Linked DNA regions of Homo sapiens: all the other regions are linked to region 5. The links are contacts of gene promoters, found by promoter capture Hi-C in blood cells and fetal thymus (Javierre and others, 2016). All regions are on one chromosome and are shown on one strand. The core of a region is centred on a gene start or on the middle of the fragment in contact, and the rest is flanking DNA. Distances in the headings are between cores, read along the strand shown. Region 1 has its middle 94 kb from the start of NEFM. Region 2 has its middle 48 kb from the start of NEFM. Region 3 has its middle 66 kb from the start of NEFM. Region 4 has its middle 17 kb from the start of NEFM. Region 5 holds the start of ADAM7-AS2 (ADAM7 antisense RNA 2).

Evidence for each region. Contacts are between HindIII fragments. The CHiCAGO score rates a contact against its expected background, and 5 or more counts as called.
Region 1: a contact is called between a fragment that was not itself captured here and the fragment with the promoter of ADAM7-AS2 in region 5, in 1 of 17 cell types (megakaryocytes). The highest score is 5.1, in megakaryocytes.
Region 2: a fragment that was not itself captured here is called in contact with the fragment with the promoter of ADAM7-AS2 in region 5 in 2 of 17 cell types (endothelial precursors and megakaryocytes); the score reaches 8.4 in endothelial precursors.
Region 3: a contact is called between a fragment that was not itself captured here and the fragment with the promoter of ADAM7-AS2 in region 5, in 1 of 17 cell types (endothelial precursors). The highest score is 5.8, in endothelial precursors.
Region 4: a contact is called between a fragment that was not itself captured here and the fragment with the promoter of ADAM7-AS2 in region 5, in 1 of 17 cell types (megakaryocytes). The highest score is 5.5, in megakaryocytes.

Annotation. Positions count from the first base shown.
Region 1 is chr8:24,818,342-24,821,041 of GRCh38, forward strand. No RefSeq gene overlaps it. Among named protein-coding and RNA genes, the nearest start is that of NEFM, 94 kb to the right of the region's middle. The HindIII fragment of the contact is 2,513 bases long and covers 180-2,692 here.
Region 2 is chr8:24,864,492-24,867,191 of GRCh38, forward strand. No RefSeq gene overlaps it. Among named protein-coding and RNA genes, the nearest start is that of NEFM, 48 kb to the right of the region's middle. The HindIII fragment of the contact is 6,520 bases long and covers 1-2,700 here.
Region 3 is chr8:24,846,144-24,848,863 of GRCh38, forward strand. No RefSeq gene overlaps it. Among named protein-coding and RNA genes, the nearest start is that of NEFM, 66 kb to the right of the region's middle. The HindIII fragment of the contact is 2,761 bases long and covers 1-2,701 here.
Region 4 is chr8:24,929,091-24,931,790 of GRCh38, forward strand. No RefSeq gene overlaps it. Among named protein-coding and RNA genes, the nearest start is that of NEFM, 17 kb to the left of the region's middle. The HindIII fragment of the contact is 3,543 bases long and covers 1-2,700 here.
Region 5 is chr8:24,513,601-24,516,300 of GRCh38, forward strand. It overlaps ADAM7-AS2 (ADAM7 antisense RNA 2), which reads right to left and starts at 1,268. Exons shown (of 5, transcript NR_125809.1): 1 at 1,186-1,268; 2 at 975-1,064. The region is part of intron 1 of ADAM7-AS1 (ADAM7, ADAMDEC1 and ADAM28 antisense RNA 1); the gene reads right to left. The HindIII fragment of the contact is 1,717 bases long and covers 1-1,618 here.

The DNA of each region.
Region 1 (2,700 bases), core at 186-2,685, 300 kb after region 5:
ATGTTTCAAGCTCCTTAGGTGAAAAAGCAACAAACACAGTCAACAGAGGGAGTTCTGAGTGGTACTGAGTGTCTGGAATGTGGCAGACAAAGCCAACAAGTTTCCTCATACCTAAGGGGACATGATAATCTCAGAGAATAACTTACTCGTTATTTTTCCTTCCACTATTACAAGCTCGAAGCTTGATATATATAAAAGAAGCTGCTTTATCCTAGGTTTAAAAATGCAATATCAAGAATGCTCTGCTCTATTATATAAAGGATCCAATAAGAATAAAGTCAGAGATGACGGGGGAAAATATGTATATGAAGATAAATGGCTAAAGCTCAGGTAGAGGGGGAACCATGCCCCTGTGAATGGCCTCAGGCAAAACTGTCAAGGCTAGGAACTTGTTTCCAGCCACCCTGAATCTCTGCCTTTGTTAGATTTCCTGTTTCTGTCCTTCCCCTGCTCCTCAGTGCTCTCAGCCTGTCATCAGGGTCATTTTTGTGTTTCATTTCTAGTGTTGTGAGTTAGAAGTGGACATTTTCATGCTGAAGTTTTTAGGAAGAAGAGTTAAGATGGCTGCAATTTACTTTAAAATGCATCCAAAAATAAGATAGGTTAGTGGGTGGATAGCTGGATAGATGTGTGATGAAGCCAGTGTAGTAAAATGTTAATGGTACAATCCAGAGATGCAGGAAAAGTGGGGATATTTTGCTCTACTTGTGAAACCATTCCTAATAAAATGGTGAACAAACTGTGGGCATATTGGCCCAAATTTGGCCAGTGGACACCTCCTCAGTTTTGCTCCTGAGTCCTTTGGACATGAATCTAGTAGTCTTTGACAGCTTGCCTGCTACTTGTAATGACATGATTATTGCAAGCTCATCTACCCTGACCTAGAAACAGACAATTCAGTGGGAAACAATATTTAAAGGCAAGAATCTCAGTGCTACCAATATTCATTGTGACTGGTCTGGTCATTGTTTTATGGCCTTTTCAGAGGACAAAGCTAGGATACAGACAGGTGATAGGTAAAGAGAGAAACAGAAACAATAAGAAAAAGAAAGAGAAAGAAAAAGAGAAAGATTTTTTTAAGGTAAGATGTCCTATGAGTTCACACAAACATTTCCTTTTCAAATTAATGCAATGGGAATTTTCCTACCTTGTCCTATATTACTTCTGTACTGTCCTTCTTCCACAGTGAGAATTCTGGTTCTCAAGGCACAGATGATATAGAATTAGAATACCTCATAATTTATCTATGCTCTGCCCCACATTATACAAACAGTTTCAGAAAGATGATAGTAACATAGCCAATTCTGATTACTGAAACCAATTAAAAATGTTTACATATGCTTTCCCCAATCTGCCCTCCTTTTAGACATTGTATTTTATCAACATTGTCAGAGCATGTAGTCATTGCAGACCATACTCTCTCTTTTAATCCTCATTTATCCTTACTTCTAAAGGTAACCCCCATTTACTCTGATTTCTAAAGATAACTATATATTCTATCCTCATCATCAGTCCTAATGCTGAGGTCTTCCTTCTCATTTTTGTCTGGAATGTTCTTTAGTAGATTCCTCAGGAAAAGTTTATGGAAATAATAGCTCTTTATTTCTTGCATTTTAATTACAGATTGTGTCCTTCATCAACAAAATTCAGTTTCTAATACATTCTTAGCTCACATTTTCTTTCCTTGAATATCTTAAATATATTCACATCATTTCCTTTGTCATAAAGGATTGCTGCTGAAAAGTCTGAGGATAATCTAACTTCCCCCTTAAATATCACATTCTCTTTTGCTTATATGCCCAAATGATTTTTGTTTCTCTTTAAAGTCCAGTAATTTTACTAGAATATACCTTGGGGGTCATATAGATTCATTCTGGATCTATATTTTCAGATGCATGATATGATCTTTCAGTTTGGGCATCAATAAAAATACAATGAATTGAAGTCCATAAAATTCTATATCAAATCAGGAATTTATAATGATGCAAAAAATTAACTTATCTTAAGACAGGAAACCAACTCATTACCTTAAAAACTGGTAAAGGGAAGAAATCATGCATTTATCCTCCATTTTCCATGTAATCACTGAGTAACCAAATAGTAAATAAGAAAAAGACATACTCATAAAAATATTTTCAGATAATAAATAAAAACCCAATGATTAAAGTATAACATCAGCATTTTGCATGTCAGAAGGCTTATTTTAGATTCCATCCAAACCTTTTATGTTGCCCTTGAAGATGACTGCATATAATCTAATAAATCTGTAGTCATCAGCTATCTTAAGTGATTTGTTATTGATGTGAGATGGGTAGGACGAGACATTTGTGGAGAAAGAATATATTAGCTTTCTCTGTGGAGGCTGTGCTGTCCAAAATAACCTTTCAGTCTCTTTGAAGTCTCATCCAAAGGGCATATGAATTTACAAGTGGCCCACCAACAACAGAGGCAGCATCAAAGCAGGCCAAACTAAGATCTTAATTATGGATTTCCAGGAACAGCGGCCATGTGGACAGAAAAAAAGCTGAATAAAATGGCATAAACACGAAAATTAATAATACCCACTATGGATGATAAGAGCTAGAATTTTCCAAGAGTTTACCATGTGCAGCACCAGGCTAATCTCATTCAATCCTCACAACAAGCCTTTGAGGCACATACTGTGACTTTCCTGATTTAAAAGTCAATTGTAAGCTTTCC
Region 2 (2,700 bases), core at 61-2,560, 350 kb after region 5:
AAAGAGTATAATTGGATTGTTTGTAACACAAGGGATAAATGCTTCAGGGAAGGGATACCCCATTCTACATGATGTGATTACACACTACATGCCTGTATCAAAACATCGCATGTACCCCATAAAGCTATACACCTACTATGTACCCGCAATAATTAAAAATAAAAAAACTTAAATTTAAATTAAAAAAAGTGTAATTTTTTTAATATCTCAAGCCTTATTTTTTCTTTCAATTACAGCCCTATGTCTTCTGTCCTTTTCTCAGTCGCATTTCTAAAAGGAGTTGTCTACACTCACTGTCTCTATTTCTTAATTTCTCACTCATTCCACAACCCACTGAAACCTTGCATCTCCCCTCAACAGCCCACCCAACCACTGAGCTAAGTTGCCAATGACTTCTGCAAGGTATACTTTTGACCTGGGCCTCCGTAGCCTCTCAGCAGCACTCTGTGGAGTTAACTATTTTCTTTTTTGTCTTTCATGGTCTCCTCCTGGGTATCCTCCCACCTTTCTGAACAGTCTTTTAGTTTATCCTTCCCTGTTTCACATTCAAAGGTTGGAGTTTCCCAAGATTGATTCCTAGGCTACTTCTCCTTTTCATTCTTTCTTCTACACAAAATCAGCCACTCTCATATCTTCATTCGCCACCTGCATATTGACCATTTGTGAACATGCATCTTTAGATCACATCCATGTGTCCGATTTGGTCTCCACTTGGCTATCTGATGCAGGCCAGAGCCTGCAGAGCACACACTGACCTGAAATGTGAGTAATAAGGTGTTTCCTATATGAACCTGTCCAAGGAAGAAGTTGAACGTCCTACAGTTTCCCCTTGGACCCTAAGCAAGGAGCTCTGGAGCCAATATTGCCCACCGAGTGTCCCGCCTTACTCATTCACCAGACGTGAGCTGCTCCAAGAGGGGCACGCCCTCTAGGGAGGCAGCTCTGCCCCTCCGGCAGACCCTGAAGTTGCTGACTGCTGATGGCTATCTGCAGCCTGCCTTCCGCTGGGCTGGATAGCAAGTCCTTCCCTGAAGGGGGAACTCGGTGGCACATTTCTTCACCTACCACAATATCTCATAGGCACTTTAACTACAAAACAAAATTGAGCTAATTCCCTCAAAACTCACTTTCTTCCAACTGTTCCTGACCTCTGGAAATAGCACCCTCATCTATGCAGTTGCACACACCAGAAACCCAACTCTGATCCTAATGCCGCTTTTCCCTCGCACCCTGCCCTTAGCCTAACCTTAGTACTGTCTCTGCTCAGTGATTGAAATAATCTTCCAACTGCCCTCCCCACATCCTCTCAGCCCCATCTAGACCTTTCTTTACACTCAAACAGAGGGAATGACCCTTTTAAAACACAAATATATACTATCTCTTAGCCTGGCTTCCCATTACTCTTAGAATAAAGATCAAAATCTTTTACTGTCCCAGCCTATAGGAGGACAAGGCAGGTGTGTCACTTGAGCCTAGGAATTCAAGACCAGCCTGGGCAACATTACAAAAACCCATCTCTACAAAAAATACAAAAATTAGGTAGGCATGGTGACACATGCCTGCAGTCCCAGCTACTTGGGAGGCCAAAATGTGAGGATCAACTGAGCTGGGGAGGTGGAAGCTGCAGTGAGACATGATTGGGCCACTACACTCTAGCCTGGGTGATGGAGTAAAACCCTGTCTCAATTTCTTTAATCCTTTACTGGAGTCACAAGTTCCTGCATAATCTGGCTCCTCCCTCCCCATGGGTCTGGGTAGTTCAGCTATAAGGGACTTCATTCAGGCCCTAGAAATATGCAATGCTCATTCCCATCTCAGACCTTTGCATATGCTGTTTGCTCTGCCTGAAATAGACTGTCATCATTCCCCACTCAACCCAACTGACACCAATTTGCCCTTAAGATTTCAGCTTTAGTGTCTGTTTCTCAGAAAATCTTCTCTGACCTCCAGACTCCCTGTGAAAGGATATTGCATCACCGTAATTATCAGCACAATTGCAATGGTATAGAAACAGTTAATAACATACAGTCAATGTCTGATGCAGGTTAGTGCCTTAATTCAAGGATTTCATGTCTGCAAATTTGCCCACTCACTAAAATTTAGTTTAGTAACCTCCAAATCAATACTTATGATGCTTTCATGGTCATTCATTGACACGCACAAAGTAGAAGAAATTTTGAGTTGTCTGATGCACATGTCGGACCAGCTGAGGTCCAACATGGTGGCATTCTGCCTTCTTGTTTCTACTCTCATACTGTAAATATTCTTTTTGTGATCTAGTTACTGCCACATTTTTCACATTTTTGTGTCTTTTTTGACGATTTCATTGTTTAAAAATGGTCCCCAAGCATTAAAGTGCTGTCTAGTGTTTCTAAGTGCAAAAAGGCTGGGATGTGCCTTACAGAGAAAATAGGTAAATTTCATTCAGGCATGAGTGATATGCTGTTAGCCCTGAGTTCATGTTAATGAATCAACTATATTAAATAAGACGTCTTTAAACAGAAACACACATAAAACAAGGTTATATATTGATTAGCTGACAAAAATGTCGTGACCAGAGGCTCACAGGAACCTAACTCTGTGTTTCCCCCTAAGAGCAATGGCGCCGTGTTTGCTAATTTAGTGTTCCAGGTGACTTTATAGAACTTTCCTACCTAAAAAAAATGAAAGCCCCTGCAATTAGTTTTTTTATTATCTCTC
Region 3 (2,720 bases), core at 71-2,570, 330 kb after region 5:
AAACTGGATACTGGGCAATATAAAAGGTGTCAGCCCAGGTGGTGGTTTGAACTAGGATGATAGCAACAGAGACTGTGTTAACTAATTGAGTTCAGGTTAGGACTTGGTGGAACTGAGAAAGAGAGGTCTAAGGCTTTTATATTGACTGAGTCATCCATGCCTTTTGAAAGTCTTTTCTACGTCTTCCCGGAAAGAAGATGGTTTGCAAACCTATGGAATCTTTATGTGTTTATTTGGTAAATATCTTTGTCTAAGTTGTCATTTGAAATTCCATGTAGCTGCCTTTCATGAGCACTAAAAGCTCACTAGAAAAACTCCAGATATAGCATATAGTTTTTAAATAAAGCAGATTCTTTTCTTCTTGCCTCTGAAACTGGGACATCATGCCCTAGGTTTGTGTGCCAGGTCAATGGCATCAAAAGTAAAACAGTAAAGGTAAGTCCAGCCTAATGAAAGTAAAGCAAGATAAAAGCAGAACACTGCAGAGGCTCAATTTTTCCAGTAGCACTAAAATATAAATGATTTTGTGTAAGTGATCGTTCCAGCTCTAATTGAACTACACAACCAGAAGTCTCAAAGAAAGCAGCTCTATTTAGGTTAGACTTACTTGACTGTCTTATTTAACAGAGCATGGGTTTTGGAGTCATTTGATGTAAACATGAATGCTATCTCTTCTTTATGTGTCCATCAACACTCAATTTCTCTAAACCTCTATTTCCTCACTTACAAAGAAAATAATCTACTTTATGCATTGGTTGTAAGAAATAAGCTAGTTTGTAAATAACCTGTCATAAAATGTAAATACTCTGTGATGGCCAGTTACTATTTTGTAATGTCTTCTCTAGAGTAAAAATGTGCTATCAAGTTGTAGGCAATATAAATAATTCAGCTAGAATATTATGCAATGGAGAATTTTTTCAACAGCTAGTAGGCTAAAGTAAATCACAGAAAAGCCCCCTACCAAAAGTTCTCTTGGTTGGAAAAACCCATACTTTCTATGGTTTGAACATTTATGTTTCCCCAAAATTCATATACTGAATTTCTAACTCCCACGCTATTAAGAGGTGGGGCCTTTTGGAAGGTGATTAGGTCACAATGGTGGAGCATTCATGAATAAAATTAGTGCCCTTATAAGAGAGACCCGAGAGACAACTATCCCTTTCCACCATGTGAGAACACAAGAAGAAGATATCATCTATGAAGCAGGAAATGGGCCCCCCAGCAGACAATGAATCTGTCAGTGTCTTCATCTTGGACTTCCCAGCCTCTAGAACTGTGGGAAATACCTGTTGTTTATAAGCCACCCAGTTTAAGGTCATTTGTCATAGCAGCCCAATCCAACTAAGATAGCATCCTAATAAGAATAGTGACTGTCTCATTTACTATTATGCATAAGGGTTGCTGATGACTTAGTATTAACGTTTCCAGAAACTAAGACCACCTCCCAGAGAGAAGAGATGGTGGATTTGGGATATTTCCTACTATGTAGTTCTTCAACTTCTTTCTTCCCTTTTAATACTTCCTATAGTTGAGACACAACAAAAGCATAAAATACTGATATGATAAATGTAATAGACTAACTGATCATAGAAGCAACAGGAGTAGGGGAGATGGAGAGAATAGTGATAGTGACACTGAATATATTGAATACAAGGCATGAGCTGCAAGCTATTCGGTTGGTGCAAAAGTAATGGCAAAAGCCGAAATTATTTTTGTACCAACTTAATATATCATTTTAATCCTTCCACCAAATCCTTGAGGAGGAGCCCATTTCCCATATTGCACACTGGGGTTAGATAGTGTGTCCAAGGTCATACAGCTGTGAGAAGGCAGAGCTGGGATTTGGACCCAAATTTATCTGACTCCAAATTCATGTGATTTCCACTATATCAAGACAAAAAACCAGCCATCCTGGGCAGTTTCACAGAAAGACAACCAGCAGCCTCAAGGGTGGGTGTGAATAAACAAAATTTAAGTGAATGTAAGATAACTATTTTGCATGAGCTGCTTTTTTTTTTGTTTTGTATTAGATAGTCCTTCCATTGCATGTTATATGACCCAACACTGTCATCCCTGTTCTCCCTCCTGACCTGTCACCTGATCACTGAGCAACTCAGCCCTGGCTGTCCCCATAGAGGAGACCCTCAAGCACCCAGAACCGGGAACATTGGTTTCTCTTTTCCCCCACCCACCCCAAACCCACACCCAGTCTGGTTGAGGTCGGTAGACTTAGCAGTCTTACTCCAAACCTTTTTCTTCCTAGCTCTTCCCATGTGACCACTCAACTCTGACCTACAAACCAACAGCTCAGGCAGAGAGGCAGCTTCTCATAAAATGCAGAAAGAAGGATGACAACTTTTCCAAAGGAAATACTCAGTGGAAAAAGCACAAGAGCCCCAGGAGAGCAAAGGATGCTTTCTCTATCAAAACCCTAGAACATTGATTAATGATATTCTAGGAGATGCAGTCACCTTGTGACATCTGAAATACTGTTGTGCATTTAGTTTGAACTGTGTAGAGACCTCAGCTCCCTCCTGAGACATATTTACTGCCCAATCTTCTTTCTGACAAAAGATTCACTTTCCAGAAAATCGTACCTCGTATTATTATCATTAGCTCATTTTAAAGTTATGCGGGGTTTGTCTAGAGGAAATTTAATTGGTGAGAGGCTACTCCAAGCCCCTTTAGACTCATACATCAAAGCTTTATCCAACAAGCAC
Region 4 (2,700 bases), core at 46-2,545, 420 kb after region 5:
CCAAGAACTCTCTCTTGGGGTCTGGATTGGAATCCCTTTTTCTGGCAACAGATGTGAACAAGATATTGCTTGGGAGAAATGAAAGATTTGTCAAAGAATGAGAATAGTTAACAACATTAAAGACATGTACCTTGCCCACATTAACAGCCTATAACTCCATGTGTTATCAGAAAAGAAAAACATAAATATTCACTGCCAAGCTAATATATATTTCAGGGCTTGGCATGCCATATCATGATACCATTCAAGATACTGTCAAGGAACACCAATGTCCACATTCCATCAGTACAATATCCCTACCCCTCTTGCTGTCCATGACAGCAGGGCCACTAACTGGAATGCTGTCTCTCCACAGAGACCCCCAACCTCCAGCCTGTCATTACAAAGGATGGGTCTAAAATGTCACATTTAGAACCACTGAAAACTTGAAACTTTTTTCCATTTCCATCCCTCTTAGTGTCATTAATCAAACAGAGCCTCTTTCATATTATTTACTTGGCTGTTCCTCAAATCTCTTCAGACAACCAAAACAATCTAGAAAGTACAGTGTAGCTTTTAAGAACACAGATTTTGATGTCCAATTAGATCTTGGTTCAACTTCCAGTTTTAAACTTCCTAGTGGACTTAGCATGTTAGGGGCCAGTCAAGGGGAGGAGAAGGAGGAAGAGGAGGAGGAGGAGGAAGAGGAGGAGGACAAAGAGGAGGAGGAGGAGGAGGTGAAAGAACATTCTAAGAGCTCCAGAGAGAATGGAATGTAATACAAGGAAATATACCACAAGTTAAGGGAAAGGTAAGAAGCAAATTCAACTCTAGTCAGTGTGGGCTGCCATAACAAAATATAGACTTGGTGACTTAAATGACAGAAAGCTCTGGGTGATAGCACAGTCAGTTTCTGGTGAGGGCTCTCTCCCTGGCTTGCAGAGGGCCACCTTCTCATCATGTCCTCACATGACAGAGCAAGAGTGAGCTCTCCAGTGTCTCTTTTTATAAAGACACTAATCCAATCAGATCAGGGTCCTACCCTTAAAGCTCATTTAGCCTTATTTACTTCCTTAAAGGCCCTATATCGAAATACAGTAACATTGGGAGCTTAGGGCTTCAACATATGAATTTGGGGTGGGGGAGAGGGAACAGTTCAGTTCATCACAGGGGATAATGGGGCAACTCAGAAATTAGCAATGGAAAAAAGCCATTATCACCTCTGGGGTTGCAGCACACAAGAAGTAGATGTTGCTACCAGAGACCAGAACCCAGGATCATCCAGAGGGAGCTAGAATTATGGCAGCAGGGGCAGCCTGGTGAGAACTGAGACCATGGAGGGGAGAGGTGTCCAAGGGAAGTCATACTCAAGAACTCAAGCAGGAAAAGGAGACACTACCTCTGCTGGACGTGGGGCCTGAAAGAAAGGTGGGGAGGTGATGGTGGCAGGTATTCTCTGATTTGTCCCTCCTCCCTTTTCTACCCTTTCTCTGGTTCCTCCCATGACCCAGTAGCATATGCAATCTAATCAAGAAGGGAGCCTGAACTATGCAACTCCTGTGATAAAGAGTAGAGCAGGGTCAGTGTGAGAAATTGAGCTGAGAACAAGCATTGAAAGATGACTGGCACACTCACCATGTGACTTTAGGCGACTCATCCTACTTTTCTTCACATCCCTTTTCTCATCTGAAACATGGGGCCAATAAAAGATAATTTGATCACTGTTAAATCAAGTTTAGCCTAAAGCTGCCTCTTGGAATATTTTAAGTTTGGCCTGTGACAAGAAAATAAATCTTGGAGCCCCAAAAATCACTAAGCTAAAGGGAAAAGGCAAGCTGGGGACTGCTTAGGGCAAATCTGCCTCCCATTCTATTCTGCTCACTGAGATAAAAGCATATTTGATTGCCTCCTTTGGAGAGGCTAATCAGAAACTCAAAAGAGGCTGGGCATGGTGGCTCACATCTGTAATCCCAGCACTTTGGGAGGCCGAGGCTGGTGGATCACTTGAGGTCAGGAGTCTGAGACAAGCCTGGCCAGTGTGGTGAAACCCCATCTCTACTAAAAATACCAAAATTAGCCAGATGTGGTGGCACGTGCCTGTAATCCCAACTACTTGGGAGGCTGAGGCATGAGAATCACTTGAACCTGGGAGGCAGAGGTTGCAGTGAGGCAAGATCACACCACTGCACTCCAGTCTGGGCAACAGAGTGAGACTCCATCTCAAAGAAAAAAAAAAGAAGAAGAAGAAAAAGAAACTCAAAAGAATGCAACCATTTGTCTCTTTTCTACCTGTGACCTGTAAGCCCCCTCCCTGCTTTGAGTTGTTCTGCCTTTCCAGACCAAACCAGTGTTCCTCTTACATATGTTGATTGATGTCTGATGTCTCCCTAAACTGTATAAAACCAACCTGTGCTCTGACCACCTTAGGAACATGTTGTCAGGACCTCTTGAGGCTGTGTCACAGGTATGCATCCTCAACCTTGGCAAAATGAACTTTCTAAATTAACCGAGACCTGTTTCAGATATTCAGTGTTCACAGGCCTAAAGGTCTACAGTCTGTTTATACCTGCACTTGTTAGAGTTCTGTACATCATGAACTATAACAAGTGGAGGTATAAGCAGACTGTAGCCTACACTTTTGCCAATCACCAAGTTGGGCCAATGAAATGTAACCCACTGTTCAAACCATATTCAAATAAGGCAAATGTTGAGCTGTAACCA
Region 5 (2,700 bases), core at 18-2,517:
CCCATACTACTGCATTTCCATGAAATGCACAAGGTCCATGGGAAGGATTATTTTACAAATGAGGAGGCTAGGGATTAAGAGGTCCTCAAACACACAGCCAAGAAATGGCAAAACAGGAATCACAGGCCTCAGACCAAAGCCACCATCCGAACAGTAACTCATTCCAGTTTTAAAAGTGACAGCATCACAACTGGCCACTGGATGACCTCAGAGTTCAATCCTGCTAAAAGTAGCTTTGGATTGAGACCATCCTGGCCAACAAAGTGAAATCCCGTCTCTACTAAAATACAAAAAATTAGCCAGGCATGGTGGCATGCACCTGTAGTCCCAGCTGCTCGGGAGGCTGAGGCAGGGGAATCCCTTGAATCCAGGAGGCAGAGGTTGCAGTGAGCTGAGACTGCACCACTGCACTCCAGCCTGGCGACAGGGCCAGACTTTGTCTCAAAAAAAAAAAAAAAGTAGCTTTGATGTTGAAAGGGGCTGGGTAGTAGAGATCAGTTAGTGGGCCCTCCCCAATCCTAGCCAAAAGGAGCACAGTATCCATTTCATTTTCACATCTTCAGGTTCTTCAAAGTCATGCCTAAAGTGGGGAAAGAATTAAAAGATCTACTGTCATTCTAACAGGATTCAAAGAGAGGAACCACTGGATGGAAAAATGTGAATTATTTTAGACAAAGCCTTTAGCATTTAAAATACTCCTCATCCCATAATTAATCTATTCCTTTCTCTCACGTTATCAGCATCAGTGCCTTGATATCAAAGTGTATGTCAATAAGTCACAGAAGGGAAGATAATAGTTGGAGTGACCTTCTGAGCTTCTAGGTTGTTCTACCCTCTCCCTTAAAGTCCTGGCTCAGGGGTGTGCCTCCTCAGGTCCACCAGGGAAAGCAGCTGTAGAGTAATCTGATCCTCTCCAAAATGTCCGTGACGCTGTCTCTGAAGAAGGACATTTCCCAAGTTTAAGCTATCATTACCTACTGCAGTCTTCTGTCTGGCTGAAGGAAGGAAGAAATAATCTCCTAAAGTGGCACATTGTGCAAATCTGATGCGTCAATCTTGAAGCACTGCCAAGCAATTCAGAAGAGAAATAAATCAATTCATTCCATCTCCTTAATGCTGCCGTGTCTAACAGGTTTCTATGCTGAAAATATCACCAGCTGGACACTGTGACACTTAATATTGCACCTTCAGAAATGAATTATCAGGCACAAGCCCAGTCTGATGTCATTCTCCTTCCCTGGTTCACTTGAATCTTCAAGAGAAAGAACACTCAGGCTCAGAAGGAACAATGATAAAATGGTAGAACAACATGACATCACCTCCGCATCACAAAACAGGCAAAGTTATAATCCTCTTCACTAGGATCCCTCTGTGACTCCTCTAAACAGAAACAATAACAAAAAAGCAGAGGCAGAGATTAAGCACACTTACAGATTTCAGAGGGGAAAAAACTTAGAAAAGTAAAAAACGAATGTGGACTGATGCCATGTAGGTTCTATTTACTTATCCATTAACGTCTTTGTTCAACATGTACTCATCGCATACTGGCTGTGTTAGAGGTATTATTCTAGGGACATGTAGATATGTAGGTGTACACAGCCCTGCCCTGAGAAAACCAAGCTTTGTGAGCAAGCAAAACAGGCTTCTAAATGGATGGTCATAAATTATGTGATGTCTGTATCAAAACATCTCATGTATCCTCTGAATATATATACCTACTCTGTACCCACAACAATTAAAAATTAAAAGTTTAAAAATAAAATACATTGCCACATATACATGAAAAATGAAATTCTGGAAAAAAATTAGAAAAATAAATTAATGTGATACATGGCACCAAAGAGGAAGGCAGTAGGTGAAATTGCCCAGGGGAATGAAGAGGAGGCTTCTAATGCTTGTTGGAATGGAGAAGGCGTCAGAGAGGTAACTTTTAATCAAGGTCTTAACAAAGGTACAAGGGTTTGCCAAGCAGAGAATTAACATTCCAGGGAGAAGCAGCGAGTCTAAGCATACCTGAGTTTGGTAGGTCTGATCACAGAAAGTAGGTTAGTGTAGTTATATCATGAGGTATATAGGAAAGCATGGTATGAGAGGACATTAAAGACAGGCTGCATTGGATATTCTATGCTGTGGTTATCTGTTGTTGTTTGAGACAAGGTCTTGCTACATGGCCCAGGCTGAAGAGCAGGGGCATGATCTCGGCTCACTGCAACATCTGCCTCCTGGGTTCAAGTAATTCTCTTGCCTCAGCCTCCTGAGTAGCTGGGACTACAGACGTGTGCCACCATGCCCAGGTAATTTTTTAATTTTTTGTAGAGACAGAGTTTCACAATGTTGGCCAGGCTAGTCTCAAACTCCTGGCCTCAAGTAATCTGCCTGCCTCAGCCTCCCAAAGTGCTGGGATTACAGGCATGAGCCACTGTGCCTGGCATGGTGTGGATATCTTAAAGGCAAATGACTTGGTAAAATAACTTAAATGAAAGTAACAAGGTAAAATTTGTGTTTTAGGGGGGAGAACTGCATGATTTTGAAGGTTGGATAAAAGAAGGCTACTGTACTGTCCAAGTTAGAAGATATGAAACCTCAGAGAGACTGGAGTAGTAGAAACATAGATTAAAGGAGGGCTATAAGAAGTTCTTTTTTGATTGGATAAGGGAACAGGGATGAGGTCAAGGGCAGAGTTGATGCTGTCTTCCATGT